Regions from separate parts of the Homo sapiens genome. Here regions 2 and 3 are each linked to region 1. Evidence: promoter capture Hi-C in 16 types of primary human blood cells and fetal thymus (Javierre and others, 2016). All regions are on one chromosome and are shown on one strand. The core of a region is centred on a gene start or on the middle of the fragment in contact, and the rest is flanking DNA. Distances in the headings are between cores, read along the strand shown.

What was found. Contacts are between HindIII fragments. The CHiCAGO score rates a contact against its expected background, and 5 or more counts as called.
Region 2: the fragment with the promoter of BRMS1L here is called in contact with the fragment with the promoter of PPP2R3C in region 1 in 1 of 17 cell types (total B cells); the score reaches 5.4 in total B cells.
Region 3: a fragment that was not itself captured here is called in contact with the fragment with the promoter of PPP2R3C in region 1 in 1 of 17 cell types (erythroblasts); the score reaches 5.1 in erythroblasts.

The regions. Positions count from the first base shown.
Region 1 is chr14:35,120,728-35,123,248 of GRCh38, forward strand. PPP2R3C (protein phosphatase 2 regulatory subunit B''gamma) reads right to left here and starts at 1,263. Exons shown (of 13, transcript NM_017917.4): 1 at 1,175-1,263. The coding sequence starts at 1,232. It overlaps PRORP (protein only RNase P catalytic subunit), which reads left to right and starts at 1,825. Exons shown (of 8, transcript NM_014672.4): 1 at 1,825-1,908; 2 at 2,225-2,521. The coding sequence starts at 2,519. It overlaps PRORP-PSMA6 (PRORP-PSMA6 readthrough), which reads left to right and starts at 1,112. Exons shown (of 15, transcript NR_182666.1): 1 at 1,112-1,325; 2 at 2,225-2,521. RefSeq lists enhancers at 467-1,666, 886-1,805, 1,049-1,178, 1,719-1,798, 1,806-2,521 and 1 more. The HindIII fragment of the contact is 10,079 bases long and covers 1-2,137 here.
Region 2 is chr14:35,825,075-35,827,595 of GRCh38, forward strand. BRMS1L (BRMS1 like transcriptional repressor) reads left to right here and starts at 1,264. Exons shown (of 10, transcript NM_032352.4): 1 at 1,264-1,584. The coding sequence starts at 1,443. RefSeq lists silencers at 1,305-1,404, 1,655-1,824. The HindIII fragment of the contact is 11,609 bases long and covers 1-2,521 here.
Region 3 is chr14:34,600,746-34,603,266 of GRCh38, forward strand. All of the region lies in intron 6 of SNX6 (sorting nexin 6), which reads right to left. Among named protein-coding and RNA genes, the nearest start is that of SNX6, 28 kb to the right of the region's middle. The HindIII fragment of the contact is 6,636 bases long and covers 1-2,521 here.

The sequences.
Region 1 (2,521 bases), core at 13-2,512:
CCTGAGGCCAGGAATTCGAGACCAGCCCAGGCAACATAGCAAGACCTCATCTCCACTAAAAATAAAAAATTAGCCGGGTGTGGTGGCGTGTGCCTGTACTTCTAGCTGCTCAAGAGGCTGGGGTGGGAAGATCCCTTGAGCCCAGGAAATCGAGGTTGCAGCAATACTTCACTGCGCCGCTGCACTCCAGCCTGGGCAACACAGGGAGATCCTGTATCGGAAAAAAAAAAGTGTATTTAGGAAAACACAGATTGGCAGTTTGGGAGATGAAAATTGAATGTAGGAGAATGAACGTCCAGGAAAACACGGTAGACATGACCAAAACACCTTCTTTAGATTAGTGGACTTGTATTAAAAGTGAGATAACTCGGCGGGGCGCGGTGACTCACGTCTGTAATTCCAGCACTTTGGGAGGCCGAGGTGGGCGAATCACAAGGTCAGGAGTTTGAGACCAGCCTGGCCAATATGGCGAAACCCCGTCTCTACTAGAAATACAAAAATTAACCGGCCGTGGTTGCGCGCGCTTATAGTTCCAGCTACTCCAGAGGCTGAGGCAGAAGAACCGCTTGAACCCGGGAGGCAGAGGTTGCAGTGAGCGGAGATGCTGCCACTGCACTCCAGCCAGCCTGGGCGACAGAGCAAGAGACTCCGTCTCAAAAAAAAAAGTGAGACAACTCACCAAGGTTCTGTTTTTCTCCAGCCACTTTCAACAGCCCTTAGTGCGGGTGTGGAATAGGAAAGGTAGATTTAACGAGGTTAGTTAATAAGCAATGTGAAGGAGAAAAATAAAAGGAAAAATGGATTATGAAATATAAAATGGATTACGAGGGAAGCAAAAAGCGTGACAGTAAAAAGGCAGGAGGACAATTATAGGTCCTGGTGGGGTTCAGGCGTTGTTGGAGCCGGGGTTCCAAGTTATTCTTCACAAGTTTAGATTAAGACCATGGAAGTCAGTGACTAAAGCTAAGTTTTTCGTTCCTCTAGATTCTGCCCCAGGAAAGTTTGGGTCAAACCTATCGGGATCCTTAAACCACATTCCACTCCGCCTCCTTTGTCGGGAGGTTTCACAGAAGCGGAAAAGGCGGCTCCCCCTTGCTCCTCCTCCCCACCTCCCCCCTACCTCTAGGAGTTTAGGGCCGGGCCATCCCAACGGGCTGCCCCTCCCAAAACTCACTGTTTGGACAGGTGTTGGGCGTCGCTAGGCGCCGACGAAGAACTTCTTTCCAGTCCATGGCCGACTTCCGCGCAGCAGCTTCTGCATTTGCTGTTTCCTACCTGCTCCACCCCTACCAGCTCAGGCGTCAGCACCGCCAGGCCCCGTAAAGGTTAGGAAGGCCGTCCAACCACCATCTTGATCGAGGGCGGAAGTCTTGGCTAAAGAGGCAAAAACAATTACTGTCACTGCCGCGGAGAATACCGCTACCACGCTGACTGGGGGAAAAAACTATGAAAGAGATGGAAAATGGTTCTCCTTCAGAGGCGACCCAAGCTCACCAAGCCGGATTTTAAAGGCCACGATAAGCCCGCGTTTTCCTTTATCGTGTGCCTTTGGCGCGTGCGCACCACGTGACCCAGGAGTTCATTAGTTCCGGCTTGAGGGAAGCGCCTTCTTTCACAATTTCTTTTCATTGTTCATTGCGGATATCTGGAAGCCTTCCAGGTCCCCTGAATGTAGTAGACACTTCAGCAGCCGTCTCCTACCCCTTTTGCCACTAAATGCTTCAAAACTGCCTTTTTTCCTCGCCGCCGGGCCAGGCGGAACGCCTAAGTCCGGGTCAGTCTCGTCCGTCGGTCGGGGCTGGCGCGGTGCATCGTGGGCACTGTAGTTTCCGCCGCGTTTATGGCCGCGTTAAGTCTGAGTGCCGCTTTGAGTTGTTGAATGAAGTGAACTTCATTTGTCAGCGTTCGGTACGCAGTCTAGGCAGCGCCCTTCCTGTACCTCTCTTCCTTTCCTGAGTCGTTGGCGCAGCTGACTCGCCACCTCCTCCCTCCTCGTCCCCCCACCGGAGGAGTTTTGCGGTCTGTAGAGAGCTATGCAGGGTGAGGGCCCCTAGACTTCGGCTTTCGCCGCTGTTGGTGGTAGGCTGGAGTTGGGGGTCCCTGGATACGGTTTTGGCTTTACACCCCCTTTCCAGCAAGCTTCCCGTGGGAATCTGTTCCTTTTCAGGACAGCTGTGATCCACGTGAGTAAAACTGGGCGTTCCGTCTTGTGCTTTTTCCTCAGGTTCATGAACTGGAATGTAAGAGGCACCAGAGGATTCCTGCTCTGTCCCCTGGTTTGCGGCTTGCGACGTTGGACATCCCCGGATTGTTGTTTAATAGAGAAAACTCACCTGCCTTCTTGCTTTTAAGTAGCCCCAAAAGCAGAACCTTGATTTGTCTGTAAGGAAGAAACACAAACCTTTTAAAAAGTTCCACTTCGACTCTGCACCGCCGACCCCCAATCTCTTTAATTTTGCCATAGAAGAGGGGTTTTTTCAACATCTCTCTCACTATCTGGTGCTGATCTCACTGCATAATG
Region 2 (2,521 bases), core at 14-2,513, 700 kb after region 1:
CCGGGCAGAGACGCTCCTCACTTTCCAGACTGGGCAGCCAGGTAGAGGGGCTCCTCACATCCCAGACGATGGGCGGCCAGGCAGAGACGCTCCTCACTTCCCAGACGGGGTGGCGGCCGGGCAGAGGCTGCAATCTCGGCTCTTTGGGAGGCCAAGGCAGGCGGCTGGGAGGTGGTTGTAGCGAGCCGAGATCACGCCACTGCACTCCAGCCTGGGCACCATTGAGCACTGAGTGAACGAGACTCCGTCTGCAATCCCGGCACCTCGGGAGGTCGGGGCTGGCGGATCATTCGCGGTTAGGAGCTGGAGACCAGCCCGGCCAACACAGCGAAACCGTCTCCACCAAAAAAATACGAAAACCAGTCAGGCGTGGCGGCACGCGCCTGCAATCGCAGGCACTCGGCAGGCTGAGGCAGGAGAATCAGGCAGGGAGGTTGCAGTGAGCCGAGATGGCAGCAGTACAGTCCAGCTTCGGCTCGGCATCAGTGGGAGACCGTGGAAAGAGAGGGAGAGGGAGACCGTGGAGAGGGCGAGGGCGAGGGCGAGGGCGAGGGAGAGGGAGAGGGAGCTATGTACCCTTTTTTTGAGAAAGTACATCTGGTTAAGTATGTATTTTTCATTGAAAACTAAAGTTAAATCAGGACTGATGGCATTTTCCGACTGCATTTGGTAAAAAATAAATGCCAAAAATATTAGATTGAAAATGCCAAGATAAAACTTCCTTACCTTCTGTATTGTAAAAGTTTCAAGAATAATTTAAAGATTTTTGCACAACACAGAAAGTGCAAGTTATCGTCTATAGTTAATAATTAAATAAAACAGTTTATTAATGGTAGGTAATAAAGGTGCTTAGTAAAACAGATGGTTCTCCAGTTCCCCAGGCTCAATGAGCAGGCAAAGATCCTTTTAGGCAAAAGACATTTTCACATCTAACAGTAACATCTCTGATGGTCAGGCAGGTCAAACAATCACTTGGCGGGAAATAGATAAATACAGACTAAATTCGCACAATCTGTTTCTGTTTAGTTTATAAACTGCGATCCAGAGTGTCAGCTTTCGTGCCTTGTGGGACTTGAAGTCCAGAAGGAAGAAGTGATCAGGGCTGCCGAGGGATGGAAGCGTGCAGCCCCTGCAGGTCTGAGACCTACGAACTACAACTCCCGGCAAGCATCGGAAGGCCGCGTCGTAATTGCGGGCAACCAATCGTACCAGAGCAGGGCAAGCCCCCGCCCTCTGGCTCGGTGGAAGGCCTCCGCCAATGGCAGAGCTCCCATCGCAGAGCCTGCGGGTTAGGTTGTGAGGCCCGGGCCGGGGGCGGGGAGGAGCCAAGGGGGCGAGCAAGCTCGGTGGCTGGGTGGGTTGGGGCGTTCCGCGCGCCCTTCATTGAAGCGGCGGTGGCCGGGCTGGGCGCCGGTAGTGGAAAGCGACGGCGCGGCTGGAAAATGCCAGTCCATTCCCGAGGGGATAAGAAGGAGACCAACCATCACGATGAGATGGAGGTGGACTACGCCGAAAATGAGGGGAGCAGCTCCGAGGACGAGGACACTGAGAGCTCGTCGGTCTCCGAGGATGGAGATAGCTCAGGTGCGCGACCCACTGCTGGGACCCTGAGTCCCCGCGCCCAGCGCGCGACAGGCCGCTCTCCGCACGCCAGGCGGCTGCGTCCTGCTGGGAAAGCGGGGCGGGGACAGAGGGAAGGGGCGGAGACTGGCTCTGGGCCCTGGGCTGCACCCTGACCGGTCGCTGGGCGCTGTCTGGCTCCTGATGGGTCCCGGCGGCGGGGCGGGGCGGGCCTGGGCTTGTCCAGCTCCCAAACGCGGCGTGGTCCTGCCCCCGGTGGTGCTCTGGAGCGACCAGCCCAGGCGGACAACTTCCCGCAGCAGACAAACTGGAAATGCCTCCTCTCCCCAGCCCACCGACCTCTTTCCCTATTTTCACCTTTGCAACCCTCACTTCTCAGCGCAAGTGAGTTGCCGGGACAGAGGGTCGGCTTAGTAATTAACCTCAGTTTGCAAGTCAACTTGCCGGTCAGCACTTTTACATCAGTGTCTTTTCGGGGGCTAACTTGAGAGCGGTCCCGTTCAGTAGCTCCCTGAAGTTTGCAAGACTGAGAGGAAGGGACCAACATTCGGGCTCATTTTGGATCTTCATATGCTTATAAATTGGCTGAGTTTTGGCAGCGTTGAAAATTCTCCAAGTCTTTTCTTCCCTTCAGTTTTTTCTAACTTTGGGCTGTTTTAAATTATTTTGGGTGGGGGAGGAGGGCAGATTAACACTACAAATAAATTTTGCAAACTTTTAGGAATGGTTATTCTAAAGTGAAATGGAATTTGTGATTACCGGGATTATTTTCTTTCGATTCAAATGATGGAGATGAGACTGACTTCTTTGTCTTGGCCTGATTTTGGTCATGTAAAGGAAGCATTGATGATAGGTTGATGACAGCCTAGTATCACCCAGATGCCCTCTTTTCATGTTTCCCTTGCAAAGCAAATCTCCATGGAAGGATATAATTTCAATC
Region 3 (2,521 bases), core at 16-2,515, 520 kb before region 1:
CAATCACCTCGGCCAGGCATGGTGGCTCACACCTGTAATCCCAGCACCTTGGGAGGCCGACGCAGGCAGATCACCTGAGGTCAGGAGTTCGAGACCAGCCTGACCAATATGGTGAAACCCTGTCTCTATTAAAATATAAGAATTAGCCAGGTATGGTGGCTACTCGGGAGGTGGAGGCAGAGGAGTCGCTTGAACCTGGGAAGCAGAGGTTGTACTGAGTCGATACAGTGCCATTGCACTCCAGCCTGGGCGACAGAGACTCTGCCTCAAAAAAAAAAAAAGAGAGTTTTTAGGCAGGGAAGGAAAAAATAAGGAGTGATCAGCACCAATGGTCAGTTAAACAGATCCAGAGTCAATAATTTACCCGAATCTGGAATTCTTTAGCTCAATCACCTCCTTGGAATTCTCCACAAGGCTTCGGAAGACTCCAAACTCAAATTTAAGAAACATTAGTCAATGTGATAACCCTATTTCTTTTTTTTTTTTTTTTTTTTTTTTGAGACGGAGTCTCGCTTTGTCACCCAGGCTGGAATGCAGTGGCGCAACCTTGGCTCACTGCAACCTCCGCCTCCCGGGGTCAAGCGATTCTCTTGCCTCAGTCTCCCGAGTAGCTGGGACTACAGGCATGCGCCACCAAGCCCAGCTAATTTTTGTATTTTAAGTAGAGACGGGGTTTCACCATATTGGCCAGGCTGGTCTCAAACTCCTGACCTCGTGATCCGCCCACCTCGGCCTCCCAAAGTGCTGGATTATAGGCTGAGCCACCGTGCCTGGCTCCTACTTCTTAAGAGGTTTGCAATTAAGGATTACAAAAAAAATCAGTGTCCCTTGTAGTAACATGATTTATTTTTTATTTTTATTTTTTGAGATGGGAATTTCAGTCTTGTCCCCCAGGCTGGAGTGCAATGGCACCATCTTGGCTCTCTGCAACCTCCGCCTCCCAGGTTCAAGTGATTCTCCTGTCTTAGCCTCCCGAGTAGCTGGGATTACAGGCGCCCACCACCATGCCCAGATAATTTTTGTATTTTTAGTACAGATGGGGTTTCACCATGTTGGCCAGGCTCGTCTCGAACTCCTGACCTCAGGTGATCTGCCCGGCTTGGCCTCCCAAAGTGCTGGGATTACAGGTTACAGGCATGAGCCACCATGCCTGGCTAGTAACATGCTTAACTATCATTCTGTCAATTAATCTACTCAAGTTCTACTGAAATAACTGCATTACTACTGAAAAAGTGTCACTTAAACTACCTTGAAAAATACAAACAGGCCAGGTGCGGCTCACGCCTCTAATCCCAGCACTTTGGGAGGCTGAGGCAGGTGGATCACCTGAGGTCAGGAGTTCGAGACCAGCCTGGCCAACATGGTGAAACTCCATCTCTACTAAAAATACAAAAATTAGGCCGGGCGCAGTGGCTCATGCATGTAATCCCAGCACTTTGGGAGGCTAAGGTGGGAGGATCACCTGAGGCTGGGAGTTTGAGACCAGCCTGACCAACATGGAGAAACCCCGTCTCTACTAAAAATACAAAAATTATCTTGGCATGGTGGCGCATTCCTGTAATCCCAGCTACTTGAGAGTCTGAGGCAGAAGAATTGCTTGAACCAAGGAGGCAGAGGTTGTGGGTGAGCTGAGATCGCACCGTTGCACTCCAGCTTGGGAAACAAGAGCGAAACTGTCTTAAAAAAAAAAAAAAAATTAGCTGGGCATGGCGGCATGCGCCTGTAGTCCCAGCTACTTGGGAGGCTGAGGCACGAGAATCACTTGAACTTGGGAGGAGGAGGTCACAGTGAGCCAAGATTGCGCCACGGCACTTCAGCCTGGACGACAGAGCAAGACTCTGTCTCAAAAAAAAAAAAAAAAAGAAAAATACAAACATTCTAAAAAAAGACCTTGAGCCTTTTCTAACTACTCTTGCCTTTTCCAATGACTCTTTAAAAAGAGAACTTGGGGCCGGGCACGGTGGCTTATGCCTGTAATCCCAGCACTTTGGGAGGCTGAGGTGGGTGGATCACGAGGTCAGGAGATCGAGACCATCCTGGCTAACACAGTGAAACCCCGTCTCTACTAAAAATACAAAAAATTAGCAGGGCATAGTGGCGGGCGCCTGTAGTCCCAGCTACTCGGGAGGCTGAGGCAGGAGAATGGCATGAACCCGGGAGGCGGAGCTTGCAGTGAGCTGAGATGACGCCACTGCACTCCAGCCTGGCTGACAGAGCGAGACTCCGTCTCAAAAAAAAAAAAAAAACTTGGGCTGGGCGCTATGGCTCACGCCTGTAATCCTAGCACTTTGGGAGGCCGAGGTGGGTGGATCATGAGGTCAGGAGATCGAGACCATTCTGGCTAACACGGTGAAACACCATCTTTACTTCAAAATAGAAAAAATTAGCTGGGCGTGGTGGCAGGCGCCTGTAGTCCCAGCTACTAGGGAGGCTGAGGCAGGAGAATGGCATGAACCCGGGAGGCGGAGCTTGCAGTGAGCCAAGATCATGCCACTATGCCACTGTACTCCAGCCTGGAAGA